Regions from separate parts of the Homo sapiens genome. Here region 2 is linked to region 1. Evidence: promoter capture Hi-C in human tissues and cell types (Jung and others, 2019). All regions are on one chromosome and are shown on one strand. The core of a region is centred on a gene start or on the middle of the fragment in contact, and the rest is flanking DNA. Distances in the headings are between cores, read along the strand shown. Region 1 holds the start of MRPS10 (mitochondrial ribosomal protein S10). Region 2 overlaps TRERF1 (transcriptional regulating factor 1).

Region 1 (7,854 bases), core at 3,655-6,154:
TTAGCTTGGAAGATTTAGACAGGCTGGCATCACTAGGTCTGATTTCCCACAGGGCAACAAGTGGCTAGAATAAGTAGCTGCTGTCTTGCTTATAAAGACAGTGGCACACCATGCCAATTCTGCCACCTTTTCTTATAGGCCTGGCTCCTGCAGGCATGTGAGTTGCAGACTGGGGCTTAAATGTACTATCATAGAAATACATCCAGTACTGGCCAGGTGTGGTGGCTCATGCCTGTAATCCCAGCACTTTGGGAGGCTGAGGCAGGCAGATCACTTGAGGCCAGGAATTTGAGACCAGCCTGGCCAACATGGGAAAACCCCATTTCTACTAAGAATACAAAAATTAGCCAGGCATGGTGGTGTGTGCCTGTAATCCCAGCTAGTCGGGAGGCTAAGGCATGAGAACTACTTGAACCCAGGAGGCTGAGGTGAGGTGAGCCGAGATCATGCCACTGCACTCCAGCCTGGGTGACAGAGCGAGACTCTGTCTCAAAATAAATAAATAAATAAATATCCAATATCTATTAAGAGAAAAGTTAGAAAAGAGCAGTAAACTAGACATGTGCACAGACAAAGTGAGTACCTACAGACAAATGTCTAGAACTGTAATCCCAAACTGTTAAAGGGGGTTATTTTTGAGGGGTGGAAATGAAAGGATTTTTAAAAATTACAAGTAACACAAAAAACTGGATTGATGAAATCATAGCTTCTACAGGGTTACCAAGTTCCTTCTAGATGTTTATTATTTGTGCTAACGCATTTTCTCACTGTGAACAATAAAGCACTGTCCAGGCCCAGGCTCAATACACAAAATGAAAACAAAGACTTGAAGGCTACAAGAAAAATACTTTTCCATAACATAAATCAAGTATTCTACATCACAAATTCTGACAACTCTTCCATTATGCCAAGCTAAAAGCAAGAGACTACTAATTAACACAGTTATTTGGGGGTAAATAATTTATTCCTTTAGAACTTACTTTGATACCCTGAAGACAATATAATCCAGGGAGTTAAGAGAATATATGCGTTGTGCATTTGCCAGTATTCTAGGACAAAATTTTTTTATTCATAGAGTGTTTGGGGAAAAAAAACCCAATGAAATAATAAGGAAAACCTATTGCCAAGGTAGCTCCTTATACCAAGAAACAGGGAGTACATACCACAGGTTTGGTCAAATCCTTTGGAACATCAACGTGTAGGTTTGAAAACTGTACCCACTTCATATTGGTACTGCTATGTGTGGGGAAAAAAAGAGAAACCTAAGTAAAATAGCACAAGAACCTATTTTGTTCAATTTAGCACATCCAATTGTATACTTACAGAAGCAAGCCACCATTTTTGGCTGTATTGCCCTTAGAAGTGTTTACAGAAAAATTCCCCAATCCCTAAAGAAAAAAAAAGTAGGACATGTGTTAGAATTAAAGTCAACTACCAAACCATTCATAATTTCCACTAAAAACTAAAAGGTTACCTCATTATTTCAGACGAAGATACTGGGGTAACTAAAATGGCCAAATTAGATTGAAAAAAAAAAGAGGACAATGGTAGAGCTGATGATAAAAAAAAAAGCAGTCTCAAAATACTAGAGAATCTCTATTTTAAAGATTAGGAATAAAAACTTTTTCAAAAAAAACAATTCTCACATTTAAAAAAAGCTATGAATTATGTGGACATCAAGAAAAAATGTGACTTCATTTTCCCATTATTTTTTACAAATTAATTGTACTTCAGTATAATACTTATTTTGCCTGAATATCTTTAAGCAATAAAATATATTGTTTTTATAATTTGTTAAGAGTTGGAATAAAAATTCTGAAGTATCCCTCTTTTGATGCTTTCATACATCTTTTAAAGCATACATATTTCTTAGCTTGGCTGGGATAACTAGCTTATAATGAACTGAAATATGTGCTGTGACTTATACCCATCATTAACTACTGTGCCACATGCTACAACGAACCCACATTTCCAAATCCTTTACCATCAGCTCCCCCTGGTGGAACAAGACTTTCCAGTTTTAGGAAACAAACGATACTACTACATATAACAGCTGTTTTTTCCTTTCAACTTTTCTGAGATTTTGAAGTGTAACCTGAGAAAGTGGAAACACAATAGAATCCTTAAAAACACAATGAAGATGAAAATAAGGCCAGGTGCCGTGGCTCACACCTGTAATCCCAGCACTTTGGGAGGCCAAGGTGGGTGGATCACTTGTAGTCAGGAGTTCCAGAGCAGCCTGGCCAACATGGTGAAACCCTGTCTCTACTAAAAATACAAAAATTAGCCAGGCATGGTGGCGGTGCGGTTGTGATCCTAGTTACTTGGGAGGCTGAGGCAGGAGAATCGCTTGAACCCGGGAGGCGGAGGTCCAGGCTGGGTGACAGAGCGAGACTCCCTCTCAAAAAAAAAAAAAGAAGTTTAGCATAAGTGAAGTTTCATTAATACAAATGATTGTCACCTAAGTACGTTTTTGTTTGTTTTTTCAGGGTTTTTTTGAGACAAGGTCTCACTCTGTTATCCAGGCTGGAGTGCAGTTGCATGATCATGGCCTGGACCTCCCAGGTTCAGGTGGTCCTCCCACCCCAGTCTCCCAGATAGCTGGGACTACAGGCACGGGCCACCAGGCCCAGCTAATATTTTGTACTTTTGTAGAGATGGGGTTTCACCATATTTCCCAGGCTGGTCTTGAACTCGTGGGCTCAAGCGATCCTCCAGCCTCAGTGTCCCAAAGTGCTGGGATTTCAGGAGTGAACCACCACCTAGCCACGTTTTAAAAGCCTATTCTTAGCTTATTGTCCTTCCTCTCCTTACCCAAGATAGAGACAAATCATAACTCTATAATCTTCTTTGCACCAAAGGGGAAAAGGAAAAAGGAAATCAGGTACAACACAAAGTGGTAAGAGGTATGTGCCATTCTTCAGACAAAATTGCATAGAAAATTCCCTCCCAACAATTACACCAGTGACCCCACAATCGAGTTGTGCAAGAGGAGCAAGAATATTACACTTCTCAGTCACATTCTCCCACTATAAACCTCTGCTTTTTCTTTTCTTTTTTTTTTCTTTTCTTTTTTTTTTTTTTTTTGAGAGAGTCTTGCTCTGTCGCCCAGGCTGGAGTACAGTGGAGCATTCTCAGCTCACTGAAACCTCCGCCTCCTGGGTTCAAGCAAGTCTCCTGCCTTAGCCTCCTGAGTAGGTGGGATTACAGGGGCCCACCGCCACACTCAGCTAATTTTTGTATTTTTAGTAGAGACGGAGTTTTGCCATGTTAGCCAGGATGGTCTTGATCTCCTGATCTCGTGATCCGCCCACCTCGGCCTCCCAAAGTGTAGGGATTACAGGCGTGAGCCACCGTGCCCGGCCAAGAAGTTTTTAAATTGCATTTTTTCTTTGTATTTCTTGAGAGAGAGAGAGAGAGAGAGAGAGAGTGTGTGTGTGTGTGTGTGTGTGTGTGTTGGGGGAGTGGTGGTTTGGAAGGGAGGGCTGTCTGGGTAAATTTGTCTTAATAAAGCAGTTCAAAAATTTCAATCTCTAATACCATCTGACTTTTCTCAAGAACAGTGGTTTTCAGGCCGGGTGCGGTGGCTCAAGGCTGTAATCCCAGCACTTTGGGAGGCCGAGGCTGCCGGATCACTTGAGGTCAGGAGTTCGAGACCAGCCTGACCGACATGGTGAAACCCCGTCTCTGCTAAACATACAAATACTAGCTGGGCATGGTGACGCATGACTGTAATTCCAGCTGCTCGGGAGGCTGAGGTAGGAGAATCACTTGAACCCGGGAGGTGGAGGCTGTAGTGAGCCGAGATCGTGCCATTGCGCTCCAGCTTGGGCGACAAGAGCGAAACTCCGTCTCCAAACAAAAACAAAAACAAAAACGGTGGTCTCAAAGTGTAGTCTGAGGACGTCTGTGGGGTCTGAGACACTTTCAGGGGATCCGGGAAATCAAAACTATTTTCATAAAACCAAAACGTCATTTACAACTTTTCCACTCATTCTCTTACCAGTGTACAGTGAAGTTTTCCCGTGACAGCCTGAGGTGTGATATAGGAAAAGATTAAATACAGAAGCAGATTTGAATCTAGCTTTTATTAAGCCAGAAATTAAAGAGAGCTGCAAAAATGTAAAACATTGCTGCTCCTTACTCAGTTTGTTCAGAAAATATATTTTTCATAAAGTATTAGTTGTAACATGTAATGAGTTAGTGTTACTTTTAAATCAATATATATTCTTAAGTTTTATTTTCCAAAAAGCTAAATATAGATAGCAAAAACCCACAAAAACAAAAGCTCTCTGGAGTCCTGAACTCCGAAAGTGTAAAGTGGTCCCAAGGCCAAAAAGCAGGAGAACCGCTGCTGAAAAGTTTTTGCTCCTCCTGCAAATAACTGCGCAGAGGATATCTAACCCACTTCTCTGGCTTGAGACCTTCATCTAAATTTGGATGCCAGGAAAGCATCTCAATTTAGTTCCATGGGAAGAGTCTGATATCTTGCACCAGCTCAGCCTCTAATTTTCGCGAGGCAAATTTCCTGTCTTCTCTGAGCCTCAGTTTATTTTGCAAGCGTGAAAGGAGGGGTTTTGGAACATACGAAGTACAAAATCTTTTCCAGCTCTGACATTCTACGATTATTCTTGTTCCTATCTTTGCCTGGACTCACTAACTTATATTTAATTCCATGAGAGAATTCTGATAAAACTAGCCCCTTTCTCGTCACTTTCCTGTAAACGGCGCGAGGTGAGGGATAAATATCAGGAAAAATCCTGATGGGCAGAGCGGCTGGTGGCAGGGAAACTTAAAAGCAACTATCCCGGTCAGCCCTCCTAGTCTCCCTAGCCAATCCAGTACCTGCCAGAGGCGCCGGCACACAGCACCGAACGCTGTCCGCGCCGCCATCTTGCCGGTCCCGACCTCTCAGGATTGCTTCCGGGGTTACAGCGGCGTCCTCAGACCATAGAGTTCCGCAAAAGAAGAGAGTACATCCTCATGTTCCGGCGCTGGAACAACCATAGAGACATGAACCTGTGCTTTTTGGGGGCGGGACAGTTGGCTGGCCAGGCTGGTTTGGCTCCGGCCAGTGTCTGGATAGTTACCAAGCCCTATTAATGTTTTCACCTTTAAATTGTTGTGTGTGTATACACACACACACACACACACATTTATTTATTTACTTATTTTTTCCTTTTAGAGACTGAGTCTCACTCGGCTGCCCAGGCTGGAGTGCAGTGGCACAGTCATAGCTCACTGCAGCCTCAAACTCCTGCCTCAAGTGATCCTCCTGCCTCAGCCTCCCAAGTAGCTGGACTACAAGTGCGTGCCACCACAGCCGACTAATTTTTTGTTTTTTTTTTTAATTTTCTTGTAGAGACAGGGTCTCATTATATTGCTCTCGTTATTTTGTGGGCTGGTCTTGAATTCCTGTCCTCAAGTGATCCTCTGGCCTTGGCCTCCCAAAGGACTGAGATTACAGGCATGAACCACAAAGCCCGGACTGAAACTAGTGTATTGACACCATTTACTTCAGTACTGGAATAATGGGTGATTTATTTTCCTATTTTTGCATTTTTCAATTTTTTTTGCATTTTTCAAAATTTTAACAAAATCTATATTTAACAAGAAAAAGAAAAGTCGGCCACTACCATTGGGTCCAGTTGCCACTCAGTTACCTTATTGCAGCGGCTTTCTAATTATGGTTCTTAATCCTTTCTTCCTTCCCCACACCAATTGGAATTCCTGTGCTCCAACCATTTTGTATACCGCTGTCCTACTGATCTTTCTAAATTATTCATTTCCTTATGTTACTCTAGTATTTAGGAATTTACAATGGCTAGCTTCACTTACAACAAGCCAAAGTGTTTTGTCTAATTATTAATGTCCACCATAATTTTTTCCAAGTAAAAAGATGTATAACTGGGATTTGCTATAATAAAAACTTCTTCAGGCTGGGTGCGGTGGCTCACGCCTGTAATCCCAGCACTTTGGGAGGCTGAGGTGGGCGGATCACCTGAGGTCAGGAGTTCGAGACCAGCCTGGCCAACATGGTGAAACCCCATCTCTACTAAAAATACAAAAAATTAGTGGGGTGTCATCGTTGTGTGCCTGTAGTCCCAGCTACTCAGGAGGCTGAGGCACGAGAATTGCTTGAACCCGGGAAGTGGAGGTTGCAGTGAGGCAAGATCGTGCCACTGCACTCCAGCCTGGGAGACACAATGAGACTCTGTCTAAAAAAAAAAAAAAAAAAAGAAAAGAAAAGAAAAGGCCAGGTGCAGTGGCTCGGCTCACACCTGTAATTCCAGCACTCAGCACTTTGGGAGGCCAAGGCGGGTGGATCACCTGACGTCAGAAGTTCAAGATCAGCCTGGCCAACATGGCAAAACCCTGTCTCTACTAAAAATACAAAGTCAGGCATGGTGGTGTGCACCTGTAATCCCAGCTATTTGGGAGGCTGAGGCAGGAGAATCTCTTGAACCCGGGAGGCAGAGAGTGCAGTGAGCCGAGATTGAGATTGTACCACTGCACTCCAGTCTAGGGAACAGAGCGAGACTCCGTCTCCAAAAAAAAAACTTATTCCATTTGTGCAAATCTTTAAAAATTTATTTTTATTTTTCCTTTTACTTTCTCCTCATCTTAAAGTCTGCTTCTATAATACTATATTGTCTTTTTTGTGTGTGTGTGTGAGACAGTGTCTCGCTCTGTTGCCCAGGCTGGAGAGCACTGGCTTGATCATAGCCCACTGCAGCCTCAAACTCCTGGGGTTAAGTGATCCTCACACCACAGCCTCTGGAGTATCTAAAACTACAGGTGTTTGCGACCATTTTTTATTTTATTTTTATTGTTTTGTAGAGACAGAGACTTGCTATGTTGCCCAGGCTGGTCTCAAACTCCTGGCTTCCAGCAATCCTCTCACCTTGGCCTCCCAAAGTGCTGGTTTTACAGGTATGAGCCACTGCACTTGGCCCATTTGTTCACATTTCTAAGCTTTATTTCCCCAAAGTGCTTTCACATATGCATTTTAGCCTAATGGAAAACTCTAGCCTTATAATCAGATCTGGTTTCTAATCCCAGGCTTACCAGTTAGTTGAGTGACTTTGAGCAAGTTACTTCCTTACCCTCAGCCTCAGTTTGCTCATATGTCAAAAAAAAAAAAAAAAAAAAGATAACAGTAGTTCCTGCTTCCAATAGTTGCTTGGGAATTCAATGCAATACCAATATATGGTGTTTAGTACAATACTGCCATGTAATGATACACTATAGATGTCATCCACTATTTGTGCCATTAAGTTTCTACCTCACCTGCCTCACAAGGTTGTTGAGAAGATTAAAAATAAAAAGATCAAGTTTATGAGAATATTTTATAGCATCCAAATAAAGAACTGTACAAATATAAAGTTGTTTTTTTTTTCTCCCCACAAATAGTTATTACTACCCTATTTTGCAGGCAAGAGAACCAAAGAAGAGGCAGAATGATTTGCCCAACATCACACCTATCTAGGAGATAGAAAAGGTCTAGGAGCAGAAACCAGTTTTCCTGCCCCTCAGGCTGGCCTCTGTTTACTAGAATTCAGTCCGTGTTGAGGTGTGGCAGAGATTCCAGTGTGGCCTTGCAACAGGGTATGGAAACAGCACACTTCACCTGTGTGCACTTCTTATTTATTTATTTTTGAGACGGAGTTTCACTCTTGTTGCCCAGCCTGGAGTGCAATGGCATGACCCTGGCTCACTGCAACCTCCACCTCCTGGGTTCAAGTGATTCTCCTACCTCAGCCTCCTGAGTAGCTGGGATTACAGGCATGCGCCACCACGCCCAGCTAATTTTTGTATTTTTAGTAGAGACGGAGTTTCTCCATGTTGACCAGG
Region 2 (7,854 bases), core at 2,321-4,820, 140 kb after region 1:
GTGCGTGTATACATATAAACATAGTTATAAATGCATAAGAAAAGATTATGGGAGGATTTTAATAAAAATCGTGATGGTAGTTCTGGAATTATATATTTGCTATATTTTATAAGCTTTCAACAATGGATATGTATTACTTTAATTTTTTTATGTTTGATTGTGAAAAATTTCAAACGTACACAAAAGTAGCTAGAATATATGTACCCATTACCAGCTTGGATGAAGATCTTCAGGGGTCTCAGTGTAAGAGCTGGAATGTGGCCAGAGGCCCTTTGTGAGGCATGGGTGGGATTGGGGTTTGGATCCAGCTGCCTTGGAGGGTGATTGTGTCAGTGCTTGGGGGAAGGGTCCAGATGCAGCCTGCAGAGCCATGAGAGGGCATATTTCTTATTACTGCTGAATTTGTACATTTTCTATATATTTGTTTAGTGTTGTATTTAGTTATCTACTCAAGTGTTCTAACAAGGTTTAGTACTTTTCTTTTTAATTTGAGCACTTTGCAGTGTAAAGATTAATTCTGTCATATTATTGCCAGTCTTTCCCCAGTCTGTTGTTTCCCTTTTTTTTTTTCACATAAACGCTTCATTTTCCTGTAGTTTGATTGACTATTCTTTTCCTTTTTGAATGCTTTTCTTTTGTTTCTAAGTAATATTCAATGCTATAGATTTCCTATGCCTCTACATTTTGCACTTTAATTGTTTAATCCATCTGTAATTCATTTTGGTGAAGCCAAAATGATTTTTCCCAAATTGTTAATGAGGCATCAGAATTATTTATTGAATAATTTTTCCTTCCCCACTGATTTGTGATGACTGCTTTATGATTTATTAAATTATTTATGCAAGGGTCTATTTCTGAACTATCCTAGTTCACTAATCTACTTCCTCCTTTTATGACAGCACCACAGTATTTTAATTACAAAGACTTTATATTGCATTTTAATACCTCATAGTGCTATATATTTTAATATCCAATAGATCTAACTCCCTTTCCCCAAAACCACTTTCAGAATTCCCCCGATGTTCTCATCTATTTATTTTTCCAAGCAGACATAGAAACATCTTGTGAAATTTAAAACATCCTGATGGGACTTTCAGAGGAATGGTACTAGACTCATGAACTAATTTGAGAAGAATCCAAATCCTTAGTTTCAAGCTCATTATCTAGAAATAGGGTTTTTAGTAAAACTCTTTAAGTCTTCTTCATCTACAACTAAGCAATCTGTAGTTAATAATAACTTTGTCATTTTTCTTTATAATATTTATTCTCCAAGTTACTATTTTATGACTCTCTGCATTGACTAAAACTTGAAGAGGTAACGAGTGATGCCTTTATTGTTTCACCAGTAAGTATATAGCGGCAGTGGGCTGCATGAACCTGATATTCCTTATAATATTAAAGATTGGTCACTTTATATATTCCTCTTAAAGTGGTATATAAAAACTTAAAAACTGATTGAATACACTTTTGGAATTAATGAGGTTATTACATATCTTTATTTGAACAACTTATATGAACCATAGGAAAATATATGTATATGAAGCTATTCCTGCATTCCAGGAATATAATCTATTTGGTTATGGTAGAACATTCACATACTCTATTGTTGAAATCTACTCGCTAGAATTTTATTTAAAACTTTTACATTCCTAAGTGAGACTGGTATAGATCCTCCCTCTGGGGACTTGCCTGTTTTGATATCAGGGCCTTGCTTGCTTGAAAGAAGGATCTGGAAGTTTTCCATCTTTTTTCTCAATCCCGCAACAGTTTATATAACATAGGAATTATCTGTTCCTTGAGAGTTTAAAAGGATTTTCAAAGGCCTTTTTATATCTTAAAATATTCCACCTGGCACAGGGGTGTATGAGTGTGTGTGTGTCCACGTGGACATTACCATGTTAGTATACATTTAGAATGACATGTAAGATACTGATCTCAAATGGAACAGCTCTATTATAATTTATGGCCATTCTTTCCCCCATGAAAAGGGAGTAAATGCCCAAGATGATAAAGTGTTCAGAAAAAAACACATTTTCCCAGGCTTTGGTTCCAAGAGCCTCCTTTTAAGAGGCACATGAAGGTTATAGAAGGTGATCATGGAATATTGGATGTGTTGAACCATTCAAATTTCATTGAGGCTGACCAAGTTGGCAACCACAACTTTACCACTGACATTCGGAACTAGGAAAGCTGAGACCTGGAGAGACAAGGAGAACCTCTGTCTAGCCCCAGGTCACCTCCAGCTCTGTGGTAAAGGTCTTCCAACTTCCCATTTTATTGTGCCATCTGCAGCCTAGGATGCTTCCCCTCTTCCACAACAAGGAACACTTGTCGCTCTAAGGCTTTCTGTACTGCAGGGCCCCTGGACCAGTGACCCTATAAGCACTTCACAGGCACCACAAATAAAGACTCAAGAGTTGTTTCGGACTGAATGTTTCTCTTCCCCCAAATTCCTATGTTGAAGCCCTAAACCCCAATGGGATGCCATTCGGAGATGAGGTCTTTGAGAGATAATTAAGTTTAGGTAAGGTGAAGAGAGTGAAGCTCCCACGATGGGATGGGTGATCTTATAAGAAGAGGAAGAGGAGATTCCTGTCTCTGAGTGCACAAGGAAGAGATCAGGTGAGCACACAGCAAGATGGCTCTCACTCACAAGCCAAGAGAAGAGGCCTCAGAATAAAACTTACCTTGCTGAGCACCTTGATCTTGGACTTCCCAGCCTCCAGAGCTGTGAAAAATAATTTTTATTTATTTATTTATTTTTAAGATGGAGTCTTGCTCTTGTTGCCCAGGCTGGAGTGCAGTGGCACAGTCTCGGCTCACTGCAGCCTTCATCTCCCGGGTTCAAGCGATTCTCTTGCCTCAGCCTCCCGAGTAGCTGGGATTACAGGTGCCTGCCACCACACCTGGCTAATTTTTCTGTATTTTTAGAGACGTGGTTTTGCCATGTTGGCCAGGCTGGTCTCAAACTCCTGACCTCGTGATCCACTCACCTCAGCCTCCCAAAGTGCTGGGATTACAGGTGTGAGCCATTGCGCCCGGCCCATAAATTTCTATTGTTTAAGCAACCCACTTTATGGTATTTTGTTATGGCAGCCTGAGCTAAGACAAGAATGTTGTGGTAATGTCTGTCAAAAAGCACAATGTCGTCTGCCGTGGAGCAAGATATGCCTTGAGAGAAACCAGTGGTAAGGGGTCTGAACAAATTAAGACCCAATGTTGGCTGGGTGCGGTGACTCACGCCTGTAATCCCAGCATTTTGGGAGGCCGAGGCAGATGGACCACGAGGTCAGGAGTTCGAGACCAGCCTGACCAACATGGTGAAACCCTGTTTCCACTAAAAATACAAAAATTAGCCAGGCATGGTGGTGCGTGCCTGTAATCCCAGCTACTCAGGAGGCTGAGGCAGGAGAATCGCTTGATCCCAGGAGGCAGAGGTTGGAGTGAGCCAAGACTGCACCACTGCACTCCAGCCTGGGCAAAAGAGTAAGACTCTGTCTCAAAAAAAAAAAAAAAAAAAAAAAAATCCAGTGTCTGCTAGAACATGCAAGAACTGTGCCATATAAGCATACGAGCACAGATGAGGCTACTAGAAGGACTCAAACGGTAACGCTTTGCCTAAGAATGCGGTTAACAGACAATAACTGTAGGTGTTAGTGTGCCACAGAATGGTCTTCTTTTTATTGAGAAAGCCACATCTGAGATCACGTCCTTGTTTACAGGAGACCCATGAAACGTTAGAATTAGGACACCTTTTGCCAGTCAAGGTGATGAGCATTAGGATAGTCCTGCAGGAAGGCAACCAACTTGCTTTGGCTCCAGGATTCCATGATTCCATTCACAATTTCACACGGGCGAGCGAGCAGTCTTTCTGTCCCAGTCAACAAGGACAGAGGGGTTACTTTCACACCAGTCATGGCCTAACACAGAAGCTTAATCCTGACTGGAAGGCAAAGTGTGTTTGTGGCAAAGCCAGGCAGACGTGTAATGAAAGCAGAATGAGTAATGTTTAGTTAAGCTTCTGGATGGCAGGGGTGGTTGGGTGTATGTTTGGGGATTTTTAATGACTCCAAAAGGCGTCTTAAAAAGTCACACTATTTTGGCAGTTCTGAGATGCAACTTTTGCTACAAGTACTAACACCAGCAAGTGACTGCTACAAGTATTAATACTAGCACTTACCGGCAACATTTCTCACAAGCACCCCTTCCTTTCTGGGGCTCCTGGGATCAAACCAAGTTTTCTGCATATGTGGGGGGTTGGGGGTGGGGTTGGCACACACACCCTTTCCCACCTACAGAGGCATACCATACAACTGAAAGTCAGATCAAATTGAAGACATTTATCATTTTTAGGGTTAAATAGTGGAAAAGGAAAAACTGTTGACACACTTTCTAATTTGAACTACTTAGGTATTGCAAGATTTTCTTCCTGCTGGTGGAAAATTAAACTAACAATTCTAAGTTAATGACTGCAGGGTAAACGGCTCCTTCCTTATAAAATAAATTGGGTTTATCAAAACTTGTATTAAAATGGATTTTCCCCCAACTTTAACTTATAAATCCAATCAAGATATGACTCTAGAGAACTCTTAGGCTCCAAGTGAGGCTTCAAAAAGTAGGGTGTATTTCCCTACAGTTGCACATTCAGCAGCTAACTCCACATCACCAGGTGGGCACCTGACACCTGGAGGGCAAATGCGGGGCAGTGCCCACCCTCCCTTGGTGGAGTTTTCACAGGTGATGTCAGAAAAATAAGAACAATGTAGTAAATTATTCCTAAAGCTGAGTGTTTTCTATTTAAAGATTTTTGTTTTGTTCTTATATTATCTTTTCCTACTACTTTGGCATCAAGATGGTTTTTTCATAAAAGCTTTGTGATGAGTGTTAAGAGTTTTTAAAATGTCCTAACTTGGCAAAATAAAAAAGACTGGGAGCCCTAGGTCAATGACCTAAAGCTTTTTTTTTTTTTTTTTTTTCTCCTAGTGCTTTCTGGGTCCAGGCAATCTTCATTTGAGAACCACTAGTTTACAGCACTCTCTGAGCCAAGGAATTTGGAGTCAACCAGTGCTCATCTAGGTATCAAAATGGTGGCAAGCCCCAAGTGCAACTAACAACCTACAGAAGACGGAAGTCTAACTTTAGTCAACACTCAGGGAGTGGGGATGAAGAATGTAGTCTTCAAAGCTCCTGGCCACTATGGAACACTGTTCTCCTGCTGCACCCTACATGCTCACCCCTCCATCGTCAAAGCCTCCTCCTCCTGGTTCTGGAACAGGTGGTAAAGCTTTTGGAGGCCCTGTGCCAACCAGTGCTCTCCGCACCGTTAATCTGGGAACCCCAAATCAAGATGCTTGACCCTCCTGGGATTCTGAGAGGTCAGCCCTGTGGCACCAGAGGCTTTCTGGAATGATTCATCATATTGTCAGCTGAAATTCTACTGAAGTGGATGCCCAAGACTAGTTTCTCAGTACTGCAGTATCTCACTCAATCCCAGTGATCCGAAAATCCATCCATCCTCCCAGGACAGTCTGACTGTGTAGCTGGTTCAGGAAACCAAAGGCAAGCGGGGGTCACTCATCCCTCCAGAGCCTCCAGACTGAGAATAAGGAAAAAAATCGCTAGGTGCAGTGGCTCACGCCTATAATCCCAGCACTTTGGGAGGCTGAGGTGGGTGAATTATGAGGTCAGGAGATTGAGACCATCCTGGCCAACATGGTGAAACCCCATCTCTACTAAAAATACAAAAATTAGCTGGGCGCGGTGGCGTGCGCCTGCAGTCCCTGCTACTCGGGAGGCTCAGGCAGGAGAATCACTTGAACCTGGGAGGCGGAGGTTGCAGTGAGCCGAGATCGCACCACAACACTCTAGCCTGGTGACAGAGCGAGACTCCGTCTCAAAAAAACACCCAAAAAACCAACAAAAAAAACCCCAAAAATCAGCTGGGATAGGTCATGAGGTCATGACAGGCCATCAACTATTTAAGAGATTTTTCAACTAAGAATATAAGAACATATTGCCATAAAATTTTAAAATCCCTATATTCTAGAGGTTCTATCTATTTTCAGTTGTATGCTCCTTAAACTTATCTGTATTTAGGCTTCCCCCAAAATGAATTCTAACAGAAAAAAAAAACTTCGGTAAAAAAAGAATCCATAAACACTAAATATTTTAATACCTTTATTTACCTCCTCTCTAACAGAACTAATCAGCAGCAGATAATATATTTGTTACGAAGAGAATTAATTTTCTAGTTAAACATGCACATAAAAACATAAAGGTGACAATATTTGGCAATATATGACACTAATAAAGGTAACATTTATTGGGCTATCCACTGGGCTAAGCGCTTGACTCAGATCACCTCAGTTAATCCTTACAGCAAACCTATAAAGTAGGTGCTATTCTTATTTCCATTTTATAGATGAGCTTATAAATGAGGAACCTCATTACTGTAATTTAATCTTCACCAACCCAGAATTTGAGTTCAGTGTTTACTCTGGCTATTAAAAGGTTGAATAAGCAAATTAGAAATTAAACGGGATTTCAGAAGATATATTTAACCTACTAGAAGGTCGTACGTTTTAAGACATACTGAAAAACAGATGCTAACTGCTTCCAACAGGATGTGTTTGGGAAGATCCTGCCTGACACTATACCACATTAAAACACTTGAAGATTCAAACTTTTACTAGTTAAGGTTGAGTGTCCTCTCACTATTATCCCCAATGACTGGTCCAAGTTAGTAAGGTATTATTCTACTTCTATGGGTGGTACAGTATGGTGGATGTCAGCTGCGGCTCCCAAGTTCTATTTCCCTCCTACCCTGACAAAGTGTCCAGAACTCTACACACCCCCAGCCTCCCCACAGCCTGGTGCAGGAGCCAGTCTGGTGCAGAAGCCAGCCTGAGGATGAACTGACCCAGGGAGGAAGGAGTGGAGAGATTAAAAAAAAAAAAAAAAAAAAAAAAAAAAAAACCTGGATGGTTTAGGATACTGCTGAGCTGCTGGTTCACACCCACCCTGCAGTCCACCCTATCCCTGCACATGGCAGGTACATGAGCTGATTAATCAATTCATTGTGCCGTGGGAGCCCCTGAGTTAGGTTTTCTGGTATTCAGAATTAGGATTTTTGGTAGTCAGCCTGAAAGAATCCAAACTGATAAATGGGAAACGAGCTTCTATGGCCTGAATGTTTTGTGTCTCTCCCAGATTCATGTGTTGGAATCCTAATCCCCAAAGTGATAGTGTTAGGGATGAAGCCTTTGGGAGGTGATCAGGTCTTGAGGGTGAAGCCCTCATGAACAGGGTTAGTGCCCTTATTCAGGAGGTCTGAGAGAGCTCTGGTCCCTTCCATGACGTAAGGACACAAGAAGTTGTCAGTCTGCAACGTGAAAGCAACCCTCACCAGAACCTGACCATACTGGCACCCTCATCTCAGACTTCCAGCCTCCAGAACTGTGAGAAATATGATTTGTTGGTGGTTATAAGCCTCCACATCTATGGCATTCTGTTATAATAGCCCAAACAGACTACGATGTGTGTGAATCCACAGTCTCTTCCTGGCACTTACTCAGATTTTGTTTTATGTTGTTTTTTGGGTTTTTTTGTTTGTTTGTTTTTAAACTGTTTCAAATGTTTTGTGTTGTTTTTCCCGAGAAAATGTAAGGGGCTTTCGAGAAACACTTTCATGAATTAATGAGTGGCCTTGGGCAAATCCCTTGACTTCCCTGGGTCTTTTCAAGTCTGAAAAGGACTGGGATCTCCGTTGCTCCTACCATCCCTCACAGCCGGCACATCTACGTAGCTGACCTCACAATGCAAAGTTTCACTCAAACATACACAAAAGCCTCTTTT

What was found. Contacts are between HindIII fragments. The study calls those that stand out against the background at their distance.
Region 2: a fragment that was not itself captured here is called in contact with the fragment with the promoter of MRPS10 in region 1 in 1 of the 25 tissues and cell types used here (mesenchymal stem cells).

The regions. Positions count from the first base shown.
Region 1 is chr6:42,212,957-42,220,810 of GRCh38, forward strand. MRPS10 (mitochondrial ribosomal protein S10) reads right to left here and starts at 4,905. Exons shown (of 7, transcript NM_018141.4): 1 at 4,846-4,905; 2 at 1,324-1,388; 3 at 1,164-1,236. The coding sequence starts at 4,893. RefSeq lists enhancers at 3,017-3,619, 3,620-4,221, 4,793-5,072. The HindIII fragment of the contact is 13,512 bases long and covers 1-7,854 here.
Region 2 is chr6:42,353,828-42,361,681 of GRCh38, forward strand. The region is part of intron 3 of TRERF1 (transcriptional regulating factor 1); the gene reads right to left. Among named protein-coding and RNA genes, the nearest start is that of TRERF1, 94 kb to the right of the region's middle. The HindIII fragment of the contact is 3,097 bases long and covers 2,023-5,119 here.